2 separate regions of the Homo sapiens genome follow, and region 2 is linked to region 1. Evidence: promoter capture Hi-C in human tissues and cell types (Jung and others, 2019). All regions are on one chromosome and are shown on one strand. The core of a region is centred on a gene start or on the middle of the fragment in contact, and the rest is flanking DNA. Distances in the headings are between cores, read along the strand shown.

The links. The method cuts DNA at HindIII sites, captures the fragments that hold promoters and counts their contacts. A contact is called where the count stands out against the background at its distance.
Region 2: a fragment that was not itself captured here is called in contact with the fragment with the promoter of CHP2 in region 1 in 2 of the 25 tissues and cell types used here (dorsolateral prefrontal cortex and pancreas).

What each region holds. Positions count from the first base shown.
Region 1 is chr16:23,753,598-23,757,661 of GRCh38, forward strand. It overlaps CHP2 (calcineurin like EF-hand protein 2), which reads left to right and starts at 1,429. Exons shown (of 7, transcript NM_022097.4): 1 at 1,429-1,519; 2 at 2,064-2,136; 3 at 2,250-2,330; 4 at 2,466-2,596; 5 at 2,791-2,852; 6 at 3,604-3,726; 7 at 3,933-4,064. The coding sequence starts at 1,453. The coding sequence ends at 3,986. RefSeq lists an enhancer at 1,317-1,962. The HindIII fragment of the contact is 8,876 bases long and covers 1-3,438 here.
Region 2 is chr16:23,856,545-23,860,642 of GRCh38, forward strand. The region is part of intron 2 of PRKCB (protein kinase C beta); the gene reads left to right. Among named protein-coding and RNA genes, the nearest start is that of PRKCB, 23 kb to the left of the region's middle. The HindIII fragment of the contact is 4,841 bases long and covers 117-4,098 here.

The DNA.
Region 1 (4,064 bases), core at 179-2,678:
CAAGTGATCCTCCTGTCTCAGACTCCCAAGTAGCTGAGACTACAGGCATGTGCCACGACACCTGGTTAATTTTTTTTTTTTGTATTCTTTTGTAGAGATGGGGTCTCACTATGTTGCCTAGGCTGGTCTTGAGCTCCTGGGCTCAAGCAATCCTCCTGCCTCTACCTCCCAAAGTGCTGGGATTACAGGCATGAGCCTCCACGTCTGCCCTGAAATTTCAATATCACAGCTATACTGTATATCTATTTATGTGCTGTATGTATGCTGTGCTTTGTACATAAAAAATATGTTTTATTTTTTGCCCCGTTGGGGTGAGATAGAGACCGCACTGAGAATGCACGCTTTACATAATTAGTTCACAACTTGCCCCCGGCAGCCTCCACCACGTAAAATTAGAAGAAAGCAGCCCAGCAGGGCCTACAAGGAATGTGTGAACGGATGCACGTAAAGTGCTTAGCAAAGCGTGGTAAACAAGAGCCCTTGTTGTCATTCTTGCTTTAAGCCTAGTCCCAGTGATGTCTGTAACCCTCTCTTGGGCCAAGGAGTCCCATGGCTCTGGAGGGCTGTTCAGAGGACTAAGTCATTCCCAGTCTGGAGCTCTACGGGATCAGTAGGTACCTAAGGGAGTGAATTGGGCTTGGAGGGACTGTGGCCAGAAGACAGCTCTGGGCCTGGTGGTGATAGAACTTCTGATTTCTCAGGAAAAGCCAAGAATGTGGATTTTGGGTTAAATCTCCTGAATTTTAAGCATTGGCTCAATTAAACAACAATAAGGCAATGTGAACCGAACAAAAGGGATGAAACCAAGATTTACTGACTTTCCCAGAGTCACGGGCACGGCTGGGATTCCAACAAGGACTCCCAAACCAGTGCTCTTTCCACTTAACCTAACGCACACCCTTCATCTCGCCGCCCCTCCCCACTTCCCCGTCTTTGGGAGTTCTTCGATGCCTCTTCCCCCCTCCCCCCAGGATTCCCTCCCCATAGGCCACCCGCCTTCCAGCAGGGCGTGGTCTCTACAGAGGAGGTCAGGTCTCCCAGGCTTCCTCAGCGTCGACGCCGGGGAGCGCCCTGGGGTTGGGAGCGCCCGGGGCCCGCGAAGGAGGAGGTGGCTCAGGTGTCAGGGCGCACCGTGGGAACCGGCCCCGGGGGAGGCGTGGAAACGCGGGGCCTGGGACTCGACCAGCCTCTCCCGTGCGGATCGCAAAATCTCGGAGCTGAAACAGCCCGTTGTTCGCAGCCTCCCTCTGACCCGCCACCCTGCACATTGTTTTCCATTCGCCCGGGTCGCGGGTGGGAGGAGAGGCACGCCGGGGTTCTGGAGCTTGGCCGCGCGCCAGGCTTGTGGCCTTCGTCCCCCTGGGGCCACTGGGGCGGCCACGCCTCTCCGGCGGGAGGAGAGAACGCGTGGGTCCGGGTGGCTGCTCCGGCCCTTCCGCCTCCAGCTCGGCCATGGGGTCGCGCAGCTCCCACGCCGCGGTCATTCCCGACGGGGACAGTATTCGGCGAGAGACCGGCTGTGAGTGCGCCCGCGTCGGCGGCTGCGGAGGGGACGGGGCGAACCCAGGCGTCTGGGGCTAGGGAAGGGGTTGGGTTGAAGGATGGACGAACTTACAAGTCTGGGGTCCGGGGCTCCCCGGAGCTGGAAGACCAAGGCCCCTGTGCCTGGGATCGCTGGGTTAGGGGCGGGTTAACCTAGGGGTCCCAGCCTCCAAGTCTGGGGAGGATCCGGGTTCACGGGGTCGGAGTCCAGAGGAATCCAGGCACCCAGGTGTCCTCCAGCCCGGCTCGAAGCTGAAGGCAGAGCTGACGGCGGTTGGAAGGGATGGCTTTGGTTCTTTGGTTTTCGGGAGGTTGCGAGCCGCCCGGGTCTTGAACCTGGATCTTCGCGGGGTCGTGTCACTCTCCCTCCGCCCCGGCCAGCTCAACCCCTGATTCCCCGGGATGATCGCCCCTTCCAGCCAGCCCCCGCTGTTCTGGCCCATCTTCCTGGCCTGTTGGGGCGGGTTTCTGGAGCTGGCCCTGCAGAGTCACACACCCCCACCCCACTCTCCTTCCCGCAGTCTCCCAAGCCAGCCTGCTCCGCCTGCACCACCGGTTCCGGGCACTGGACAGGAATAAGAAGGGCTACCTGAGGTGAGGGGGAGCCGGCCTCATAACTTCTGGCCTCTGTCTCTCTGACTCCATGTCCCTCTTTGACCCTCCGTCTGGCATCTCTGCCTTACCCTCTTTGAAATTTGGCTTTGCAGCCGCATGGATCTCCAGCAGATAGGGGCGCTCGCCGTGAACCCCCTGGGAGACCGAATTATAGAAAGCTTCTTCCCCGATGGGTGAGGCTTGCTGGGCGTGGGGAGGTGAAGGCGGGAAAACCGGTGTGTGAGTGGGTGGGAGGGGAGGTTAGAGACGGAGGCAAAGTGATGGCCAAGGTGACCACCACCTCTTTCCATTCTGTCCCGTCTCCCCAGGAGCCAGCGAGTGGATTTCCCAGGCTTTGTCAGGGTCTTGGCTCATTTTCGCCCTGTAGAAGATGAGGACACAGAAACCCAAGACCCCAAGAAACCTGAACCTCTCAACAGCAGAAGGAACAAACTTCACTGTGAGTTTGTGAGGACCTGCACAAGTGAGAATGCAGATGTACCCACACCAGGGACAGGCTCCAGGGATCTCCCACTCCCTTCCTGAGGGCATTGACAACCTCCCCCCTCCTCCAAGGTGGGGGGAAGGAAGGTGGCTGCTGGAAGAGAGCCAGGGAAGACCTACCTTCCTTTCCCCCTCCCACCCTCTCCCCAGATGCATTTCAGCTCTATGACCTGGATCGCGATGGGAAGATCTCCAGGCATGAGATGCTGCAGGTTGGCAGAAAGCGAGAGCAAGAGATGTGATGTGTGAAGGATGGGATGGTTAAATGCAATGGTGTGAGAGATGGGGTGGGATGATTGGGGAACTGGGGCGCAGATAATTGGGGTATTGGTTGGGAAATGGGAATGGGTGCAGTTAGAGTGTGGGTTTGTTGGGAGTCGGAGTGGGGAGCAGTTGACTATGAGGTTGGGAATAGATCAGTGATTCTCAACTGGGGGTGATTTTGCTCCCTGAGTGAATATCTGGCAATATCTGGAGATGCTTTTTGTTGTCACAATGGGGGAGAGAGTGTGCTACTGGCATCTAGTGGGTAGAGGTCAGGAATGTGGCTATATATCATGCAATACCCAGGAGAGCCTCTTCCAACAAGGAGTTACCTGGCTCCAAATGTCAACAGTGCCAAGATTGAGAAACTCTGGAACAGATGTGATGGAATGAGGATGGAATTAGAAACCCTTAGTGGCTAAGGTGGAGAATGGTGTGGAGGATGGATGGAGGTTGGGTGATAAAGTTGGGTAATGAGTTTGAGCATATTTTGAGGGTAGTGCAGGATGGTGAGGGAGAGATAGGAGATTGGTTGTTGAAGCAGTAGGGAAAATTATTGGGGGATATGGTGAAAAATGGATGAAGGATGGATTATAAAATTAGCAATAACTTTTGGGATGAGGTGGGCAAGGTTTAGGAGATGGGGAGTTGCAGCCTTCGTGCCCCCTCCTTATGGCTGCCTCTTCACTCATCTCTCAGGTTCTCCGTCTGATGGTTGGGGTACAGGTGACAGAAGAGCAGCTGGAGAACATCGCTGACCGCACGGTGCAGGAGGCTGATGAAGATGGGGATGGGGCTGTGTCCTTCGTGGAGTTCACCAAGGTCAGAGTGCCCTTGGGGATTGGGGAGTTGAGATCAGGAGTTCTGGGGCAGACAGACTTGGGAAACGTTCAACGGAGGAGGGCGGAAAGATAGGGGTTGCCTGGGAATGATGGGGTCTCTGGAATGGGTAGAACCCTGGGGGAGGAGGTTGGGAGCATGGAGAGCTGAGAGTCAAGCCTCTTGCCTGCCATTTGTTTTTCCCTCAGTCCTTAGAGAAGATGGACGTTGAGCAAAAAATGAGCATCCGGATCCTGAAGTGACTCCGTTTGTGCCTTGGGCTTGCTCCTGCAACCAGTATCTCCTTGGAATTCATCCAAAGCCCCCATGGACGCATGGAC
Region 2 (4,098 bases), core at 1,287-3,786, 100 kb after region 1:
ACAGGGTCTTTGTCTGTCGCACAGGCTGGAGTGCAGTGGTACAATCATAGCTGACTGTATCCTCAACCTCCCAGGCCCAAGAGATCCTCCCACCTCATTCTCATGAGTAGCTGGGACTTGAGGCACATGCCATCATGCCTGGCTAATTTCTAAAACTTTTTGTAGAGATAGGGTCTCCCTATGTTGCTCGGGCTGGTCTCAAACTCCTGAGCTCAAACAGTCCTCCTACCTTGGCTTCCCAAAGTACTGGGATTATAGGCATGAGCCACTACTCCTGGCCTCATACAATTTTTATTTGATATAAACATATATAGCCATGAGTGAACTGGGTCAAAATGTAAAATGTGTCTCTTACTGCAGGTAACTGTCAATGTAGTTCGAATATCACTGTGAAATATATAGAGAAGAGGCTCTGGGGGCTCATGAACTTGGCCCATGGACTGTTGAGGCTTTTTTTTTAATCTTTAGAGATGATATAAATGTAGTGCTTTGAATTCTTTATAATTAGAAGTTTTATTCTTACCCCATCACCATGTCCCAAGATAATTTTTATTATCATCTTTCAGCTTTAACATATCACAGACAAAAGTTATTTTTCCAAATAGAATTTTAAGTATGGTATAAGAGGTTTTTAGAAATGGAATGATTGGTTTTGGCGGAACTGCCTGGCCTGACCTGTCACTCGGGTGAAGTGTCAGAGAGCTGTGTCGAATGCTGGCGGAGAACTGTCCCTCTCCTGCAGAGAGAAGGAGCTGCTTATCCTGGGGGATAATGTGGGTTGAGAAAGAAGTGTTTTATGAGCAGAATCAGCACAGAGGGAGGGAGGAGGAGGTGTTTAGGGGCTGCAGAGAGCCGCCAGAAGATGTGGGAACAGTATGCCAGCACGGAGGTGGGTCAGATCCCCATGGTGGGACTCTGCTGAGGGTTGCCTCCAGCCGAGACTTCCAAGGGCTGGGATTCAGTGTGTGTTTATGTTCTCTGGTGTGCCTGATAGGTGGGGGCCCACATGACAGCTGGCCTCTCTGTGTTTCCCTTCTGGCCGTCTCTGATTTGGGGCCCAAGGGCCATAGGGGGGCCAGGGCACTCCAGATGGGACGAAAAGTCAAGTCCAAGAAAAAAATGAAATCCGGGCTAGGCTTGTCCCTGCTTGAGGATGTGAGAGAGAGAGAGAGAGTGTGTGTGTGTGTGTGGGTGTGTGCGCACGTGCGTCTGCAGTCCCTAGAAGGATCTCTATTCATTGGACAGAGAGGCCAAGGGAATTTTCCATTTCCTGGATGTCTTCAAAGATTTCAAATGCCATTAACTTGAGCTGACATTTATTGAGTACTCACTCGGTGACTGGCACTGTTCTAAGTACTTTACATGTATTAACTTATTTAATCCTCACAACAGCCCTGTGTGGCTGCTACTGTTATTGTTGCCATTTTATGCTGAGAAAACAGCACAAAGAATTGAGAAATTTTTCCAAAGTTACAGTTAGGATTCAAAAATAGACTTGGTTTTAGGATTGTGTAACTTCAGAATTGATGGTGACAATGACGTTGATGATGAGGATGATGATGATGATGATGAAGGCAGCTAATATTTCAGTGTCTGCAATGAGCTGGGCATTTTCACAAACTTTATCCCTTTGAATCTTTACCTTCCACTAAGATTTGCTGCTATTCTTATCCCTTTTGTAGATAAGAAAGCAAGCTTAGAGAAGATAAAACATTTGCTTAAGTAACTGCAGAGCGTAGATTGAATTCAGGTCCATTCGAGTCAGACTGTCTGTTCACCAAGGTGAAGGGCTCCGGGGGTCACAGAGGAGCACCATGGTGAGGAAGGCCCCGTAAGAGTGTGGCAGAATGGCAACCAGGAAGGATCTGGTATACGGGATGGTGATAAGGCCCATCTCTCATGGCCAGGAAAGTGTGCCTGCCACAGCAATGAATGAAACTGGCAACATTTGACAGGAAGGGGAAATTCTCTAGTGGGAGGAATACTTCCATCAAACTGTTTTTTTTTTTTCCCAGTGGGGGAGTTTGCACATGTGTAGATTTTTTTAGCCATAGCCTTGAATAAGGAATTCAGAAAGTGGCTTCTAGTTTGAGGACTTTCATTGGCCACGTGATCACAGTAGGCTGATTTCTTCATGCCTAAGTTACCAGGCTGGGAGGACAGGCTGAGAACTATGCAAGCTGTTGAGTCACTTGGAAGGAAGAGGGTTACATACAGCAGGCACTTTCATGGAATAATACTTCCCTGAAGAGCTGCACTAATTTATTGAGGCACTGAGCTGGATGCTTCACACACATGATCTCATTGAATGTCCACAGCACCCTAGGAGGTTGATCTCATTATTAACTTCATGAAGTGACTGAGGCTTAGAGATATTAAATAGCTTCCAGCCTGGGAAACATAGTGAAACCCCATCTCTGCAAAGAATAAAAAAAAATGAGCTAGGTGTGGTGGCTCGTGCTTATATTCACAGCTACTTAGGAGGCTGAGGTGGGAGGATCCCTTGAGCTTGTGAGGGTTGAGGCTGTAGTGAGCTTTGATGGCACCACTGCACTCCAGTCTGGGTGACAGAGTGAGACCCTCTCTCTAAACAAACAAATCCCAGGAGACATTAATTAACTTGCCACTGGTCTCTAAGCTAAGTAGTTGAAGAGGGCAACAAACCCAGGTGGTCTGACTCCTAGGCTTGAAGGTCCAGGTTCAGCTACTCCACCAGTATCCCTGGTCAGTCTTTGGCCAGGGCACAGAAGGTGGCATATCAAGTTGTGGGGTCTGATTTGGAAAGTGTGAGATCCCTCCTTTGTATCTTTTCCAAAGTCCACTCAGAAGAGAGTAGTGTAAAAGGAGTGATAGCACAGCGTGGTCTGGCTGGCATAGTCAGCCGCCCTGTGATGGGCAGGGGGAAGCTGCTTTCTGTCCTCAAGCAGCCCCTAAACTTGTAGGCCAGACTCATAAATCACACATTGATAACTCAGTGTGATGTGTGCTGTAATGGTGGAGAGGGGGGAGAAATGCCAGGAGCAGCTCACCTCCCAGGGTCCTGGGGAGGCTGCACAGAGGAGCCTGAGTTCTCAGTTGGGTTTTGAGGCAGAGGAAGCAGTGAAAGAGAGAGGAAGAATGTCAGTGAGGTGCGGGGAGAAGCAAGAGAGAGAAGACACTTGGCAGGAAGAAGTAGTTGAAGTACCCGGGGATGTTTAGCTTGAAGAATAGAAAATTTGGAGGAGGCAGAGAAAAGGCAGGAAACTTTAAAAGCAGGAGAGAAAGACCTCCAGGTTCCCAAAGGGAGCATGGCACTTCTCAAGGGGGTGAGGTTGACAGCATTAGGAGAGAGAGAGAGAGAAAGAGAGAGAGAGAAAGAGAGAGAGCGAGAGAGTTGTCAAGGAAGGGAAGGACCCATGGAGGGGAGAGCACAGGTGAAAATGAGAAGTGATGGGAAAATGGGTGGGAAATAAATGAAGTTTTGAGGCCAGTTGAGAAATCTTGCTTGGTGGTTTCTATTTTCTTTGTGAAGCAGAAAAAAAGAGGAATTAGACAGACCTGCATTCAAATCTCATGACCCCAGGCAAATTTCTTATCCTTAGCTTCTTCATTTTGAAAAAGGGGTGAATGATAATAGGACCTACCTAATAAGAGTTGTCAGGATCAAATATGTTAGTGCTTGTGTAAGATGCAGTGGCACCCTGGCACTTAGTACCAAAAAAAAGTACTATAAATGTTGTCACCTATTGAGGGAGTCCGGGTTTGGGTGCTTGATACATAGAAATATCATGAATAGCAGCAGAGAATACAAGAAGAAGAGAAAGCTTGGGGGAGAAGATAGAGAATTATGCGTTGGGTATGTTGAGGATGAGGTGCCTGTGCCATATCCGGGTGTAGGTGCCCAAAGGCAACTGGAAGTCATGAGAAGTCAGGGATAGAGGTAAATGTTTGGGAGTTGTTAATACAGGGGTGCATTTTTAAAATATCTGAAGTATGTTACTGGTGGCACTCAAAGATTTTTAATGATGTAAGGTATTCAACAACATGGAACTACGTAGTTTTAAAAGAAATTCTCTTGTAGGCCGCGTGTGGTGGCTCACACCTGTAATCCCAGCACTT